Regions from separate parts of the Homo sapiens genome. Here region 1 is linked to region 2. Evidence: promoter capture Hi-C in human tissues and cell types (Jung and others, 2019). All regions are on one chromosome and are shown on one strand. Each heading gives the region's core, a stretch centred on a gene start or on the middle of the fragment in contact. The rest is flanking DNA. Distances are from core to core; before and after follow the strand shown.

Region 1 (2,736 bases), core at 137-2,636, 670 kb before region 2:
TAACTGACCTGACTCATCTGAGGTTCAACTTCCTTCTGTTTGCTTCCTTTTCCTCCAGTGGAGGTTCTAATAAGTCCCAATCAATGCCCAGGAGTAGGGAGAAAACTAGGAGAAGCCGGAGACCTGGTCCCAGCCACCTGAGCAGTCTGCTCCCCTGAACTCCAGACCCAGCCACAAACATGATCATGAAAATGATGAACCAGAGGCCAAGACTGGCTGAGCCAAACCAGGTTCCTACAGGGACTGAGCTGAGGGTTAAAAAGGAAAAACAAGGTTTGGCCAGGACGCTGGTAGCTCCATTTGATCCAGAGCGACAAAATAGAAACAGCGTGTGTTTCTGCAGCTCACTTTCCTCCCTGGAGACCGGAAGTCAGAAAGCCCTGTGGCCACCCCAGGTTAAATTCTGTTCAGTTCTGCTCAGTACTGAACAGAAATGAGCTGCATTCTCTGTCTGAAAGGAGGCAAGGCAAGCATCTCTATGGATTTCACTCACATCCCCCCAATCTTTGAACAGGGAAGGAGCGATTGTGGCCTTTGGAGTGAAGTCAGGGTTCCGGGTGTAGGTGTCTCTCAAGGGCTGGCCCAGGAGGAACTGTGAGAAGAATGTGCTCCTTACAACATGTGCTTTGCATTTCCTGTAATTTTATGGCAAGTGAGGGAGATCCAGTGGCATCCTAAAATGACCTGACAGTTTCAACTCTTGTGAGTTATCTTCTCCTTGGGCCCACATGCAGGGAATGTGTCTCTTTTTCCACTTACCTCTTTTTTTGCCACCAGCTCCCTCATCATCTGCCTCATCAACTGCTTTTGTTTTTTTAAGCATGCTTGCATTTGCTTTTTCTATATTTGCATAAATTTAAGCGGTACAAGTAAATTTGTTACATGGATATATTGTGTGATGGAAGTGACGAAGTCCTGACTTTAGTGTATCCATGACTGAAATAATGTTCATCGTACCCATTAAGTAATTTCTCGTCACCCACCCCACTTCATTCCGTGCTGAATTTAAACTGAGGTGGCCTCTGGCCTTCCTGTTTTTCAGTCTCCAGGGAGGAAATTGAGATGTAGAAACACAACATTTCTGCCCCCAATCCTTCCAAGACTCCATTGCCTATCATTCCACACCCCATGTCCAAGTGTACACATTACGTAGCACCCACTTATGAGTGAGAACATGTGGAGTTTGACTTTCTGTGTCTGAGCTGTTTCACTTAAGATGATGGTCCCCAGAAGCTATTATAGTGAAGAAGATGTTGACAAGGACAGCAAATTGCTACCAAGCTTCAAGGAATAGAGAAAAGGAAATGCTAGTTATGGCTTTCCCCTTTTTTTCCTTTTCTTTTTTTTTTTTTTTTTTGTGAGACAGGGTCTCACTGTGTTGCCGAGGCTGGAGTACAATGGCACTATCACAGCTCATCGCAGCCTGAACCTCCTGGGCTCAAGCCATCCTCCTGCCTCAGCCTCTCAAGGAGCTGGGACCACAGACATACACCACCATGCCCAGCTAATTTTTAAAATTTTTTGTGGAGACAAGGTCTCACTATGTTGCTCACGCTGGTCTAGAACTTTTGAACTTAAGCAATCCTCTCAACTTGGCCTCCCAGAGTGATAGGATTACAGGCCTGAGCCACCGTGCCCAACCTTAGAGTTATGCCTTTTCTAACAAGTATGGATACTGTCAAATCCAGCCCCTTTGCAGTTCTTCTAAATTCCCATTGTGCATCCTCCCTGACATGGACGCTCAAATTCCAAGCAAAGCATCCATCCATTCTGGATGCCTCAGGGCCACCCGTAGTTCAAATATTCTGTCCCAATATTGCCTTTTTCCCAGAAATTCTATTTTCTCTTCTCAAACCACCCGCCTCACCGGAAGAGAACAAGTGAAAAGGCCAATGTTTTGTTGGAAAGTTTGGGTCCTATTACAGCACCGTCCCCTGACCTGCAGCCCCGGTCGGCATCCACATAGTGTTTGTCACCCTCTGTATTGATACAGAGAGCAGACATTGCACCCCACAGAGATAGCCCAGACCATAGCCTGTTGTGAGTCTCCATCAGAAGAATCATGGGCAGGTGGGGCTTGAGGTGACCCTCAGCTGACCACCTCTTCCTGCTCCTTCTAGGTCACAATCATTGGTTACACCCTGGGGATTCCTGACGTCATCATGGGGATCACCTTCCTGGCTGCTGGGACCAGCGTGCCTGACTGCATGGCCAGCCTCATTGTGGCCAGACAAGGTGGGACTTCCAGTGGCAATGGGGAAGGAGGGAGGGAGGGAGGAGGAGAGGGAGGGAAGAAGGGAGGGAGGGAGGGAGGGAAGGAAGGCAGGAGGGAGAAGAGAAAGGGAGGGAGAAGAGAAGGAAAGAGGGAGGGAGGGAGTGAAGGAAAGAAGGAAGGAAGGGAGGAAGTCAGGCGGGCAGGCGGGCCTCTCTACCTGGGGGACCCACCTGGTAATTAACAGGGTTTGGAAGGAGGGAGGGTGATGCCGTGTTGGTTGAAAGGTTTCCTGGGCTCAGAAGAACAGAGAAATAATCCAGAAGGTCCTACCCTTGAGGAAAGCAAAGACATTTCCTAGGTAGCACCCATAGCCCCTTCTGGAGGCTGTATCACCATCCTCCTATTATTCAAAGTAGTAGGAAATGTACTGACAGCTAACCTTTACTGAGTAAAACATGATAGATGCACTATCTTATTTGATTTAAACAACAGCTCTGTGAAATAAGCACAATCATACCCCC
Region 2 (2,950 bases), core at 370-2,869:
GACATTTTCCTCACAGCATATGACATTTTATGTGGCTTGGCTATTTGTTCCCCAGTGTTGGACGATCAGGGCCACTACGCACTCGTGGGGTTCTCTGCCCTGTCCCCCGAAGATTCTGCCTTTTGTGTTTCCTCGGGGCTGGGCTGGACAGAGGATGGAGGCAGGCGGCCCAGTCTGGGTCCAAACGGAACGGCAGCGGAGGTGGGGGTGGGGGTGGGGGCGGGGGGAATCTTCGCTGTTGTCTCTTCCTGGTGGCACAGGGGAGGCGGCTTGTCCTCTCGGAGGCCTCAGCCTGCCTCAGAGTACAGATTGCCCCCCCTCCCCCCGTCCAGCACGCGTCTCTTTTGCGTCCAGATTGGCCGCGACCGGAGCTCAATAGCAGGAGGTTAATTTCCTTCACAAAGGTGAAGGGGGCACGGCTCCGTGGGGGCTGCGCCCAGACAGGCAGCCCCTTTATTTCGCAGCGCCTTGATTGGAGCCCTTGATTTAGCATCTGATGTCAACCGGCAAACAAAATGCCCGCTCGGAATGAAAATGCATGAGGCCGCGCGGGGAGGAGAAAGCCAACTTCACTGGGGCGCACGAGGCCGACCGCGCGTTTCGGGCTTCGGCCAACTCGACCCGGATTAACCGAGCCTTGGACCACGCGGAAGCTCCGGGCGGCCTGGGTCGGGCCCCGCCAAAGATGCCATTCCCAAGCCTCCAAGAACCCAAAAGTTCAGAAATTCACGTTCCTCTGGGAACCCAGCCCAGCCCGCCCGCGCTCCAATCCCGCGCTTTCGGGAGACTGAGAAGGCCGTGCCAATTCCTTCTCAAACTCGAAAGAAACCTTCTCTAGCCCCGTGGGCGCGCGGAGGCTGCGAGCACAAACATCGCCCTCGGCCACTGCCAGAAGGCCGGGCCCCCTGTCCACACTTGGAACCCCGGGGAACCCTTTTGCTTGGCCTCTTGGGTCCAGCGGCCCATCCGTCCAAGGTCCGGGCGGAGGCCGTCCGGACCCTGCTGCTCTCTCGGATTCTTGTTTATTTCCCAAACACCACGCGGAGCCACTGCGCCTCCGCAACGATCTCCCCCGCACCGCCCCGGCGCGCCCCCGCCCCCACCCAATCAGCGCGCACAACTTCCCCCTCGGCTCCGGCTCGCGGATTGAACCCTCCTGACATATTTGGGGCCATTCTTCTCCTTTGTTGCTATTTTGCTAGCGACCCGCGGGTAATCCCCGCGCGGGAGGGGGGCGTGCATTGTCGCGCTGATGGACGGGCCCATTTGGCGGCTCCGCGCCCCCCGGAGGAGAGACACAAAGCCCAGGCACGTGCGCCTCCCCATAGAGAAGCAGCAGACCGTGAAGGGAGGCGGGGCCGGGCGTGTGCCTGGACCGGGCGGGGCGGCGGCGCCGGGCGGGGCGACCAGGGGCGCGCGCGGGGGCCCCGCGCCCTCAGGTACATCTGCCGCACCTACCGGGCGACCCCCGAGTCCCGGCCCCCTTTTGGCCGCCCCATCGCCCTCCCACCCTGCCAGGCTGAGGAGCTGCGGACGCGCTGATTGGCTCCAGGGGAAGCGGGAGGCGAGAACAATGGCCCCCTCCCCCCGTTAAAAGGGAGCGGCTGCCGGGCCCGGGGACAGGGACGCGCGTGCAGGGCGCAGAGCTGGGCCGAGCCGTCGCCGGCGCCACGCGAGTCCCGCAGCCGCCGCGCCCGGGCAATGGGCCGGGGGCACTGAGGGCCGCCGGGGCCGAGCGCGGAGGGGGGACCGAGCCAGTGCCGTGCCCTCGGGCCGCGCCAACATGCCCCGCGGCTTCCTGGTGAAGCGCAGCAAGAAGTCCACGCCCGTTTCCTACCGGGTCCGCGGCGGCGAGGACGGCGACCGCGCACTGCTGCTCTCGCCCAGCTGCGGGGGCGCCCGCGCCGAGCCCCCGGCGCCGAGCCCGGTCCCCGGGCCGCTGCCGCCGCCGCCGCCCGCGGAGCGCGCCCATGCAGCGCTCGCCGCCGCGCTTGCCTGCGCGCCTGGGCCGCAGCCACCCCCGCAGGGCCCGCGGGCCGCGCACTTCGGCAACCCCGAGGCTGCGCACCCCGCGCCGCTCTACAGTCCCACGCGGCCCGTGAGCCGCGAGCACGAGAAGCACAAGTACTTCGAACGCAGCTTCAACCTGGGCTCGCCGGTCTCGGCCGAGTCCTTCCCCACGCCCGCCGCGCTGCTCGGAGGGGGCGGCGGCGGCGGCGCGAGCGGAGCTGGCGGAGGCGGCACCTGCGGCGGCGACCCGCTGCTCTTCGCGCCCGCCGAGCTCAAGATGGGCACGGCGTTCTCGGCTGGCGCCGAGGCGGCCCGCGGCCCGGGCCCCGGCCCCCCACTGCCCCCTGCCGCCGCCCTGCGGCCCCCGGGAAAGCGGCCCCCGCCCCCTACCGCCGCGGAGCCGCCCGCCAAGGCAGTCAAGGCCCCGGGCGCCAAGAAGCCCAAGGCCATCCGCAAGCTGCACTTCGAGGACGAGGTGACCACGTCGCCCGTGCTGGGGCTCAAGATCAAGGAGGGCCCGGTGGAGGCGCCGCGGGGCCGCGCGGGGGGCGCGGCGCGGCCGCTGGGCGAGTTCATCTGCCAGCTGTGCAAGGAGGAGTACGCCGACCCGTTCGCGCTGGCGCAGCACAAATGCTCGCGCATCGTGCGTGTGGAGTACCGCTGTCCCGAGTGCGCCAAGGTCTTCAGCTGCCCGGCCAACCTGGCCTCGCACCGCCGCTGGCACAAACCGCGGCCCGCGCCCGCCGCCGCCCGCGCGCCGGAGCCAGAAGCAGCAGCCAGGGCTGAGGCGCGGGAGGCACCCGGCGGCGGCAGCGACCGGGACACGCCGAGCCCCGGCGGCGTGTCCGAGTCGGGCTCCGAGGACGGGCTCTACGAGTGCCATCACTGCGCCAAGAAGTTCCGCCGCCAGGCCTACCTACGCAAGCACCTGCTGGCGCAC

What was found. Contacts are between HindIII fragments. The study calls those that stand out against the background at their distance.
Region 1: a fragment that was not itself captured here is called in contact with the fragment with the promoter of INSM1 in region 2 in 1 of the 25 tissues and cell types used here (IMR-90 fibroblasts).

The regions. Positions count from the first base shown.
Region 1 is chr20:19,694,677-19,697,412 of GRCh38, forward strand. SLC24A3 (solute carrier family 24 member 3) reads left to right here. Exons shown (of 17, transcript NM_020689.4): 14 at 2,121-2,235. Among named protein-coding and RNA genes, the nearest start is that of RIN2, 62 kb to the right of the region's middle. The HindIII fragment of the contact is 5,354 bases long and covers 1-2,736 here.
Region 2 is chr20:20,366,485-20,369,434 of GRCh38, forward strand. It overlaps INSM1 (INSM transcriptional repressor 1), which reads left to right and starts at 1,620. Exons shown (of 1, transcript NM_002196.3): 1 at 1,620-2,950. The coding sequence starts at 1,784. RefSeq lists an enhancer at 713-1,483. The HindIII fragment of the contact is 4,823 bases long and covers 1-2,950 here.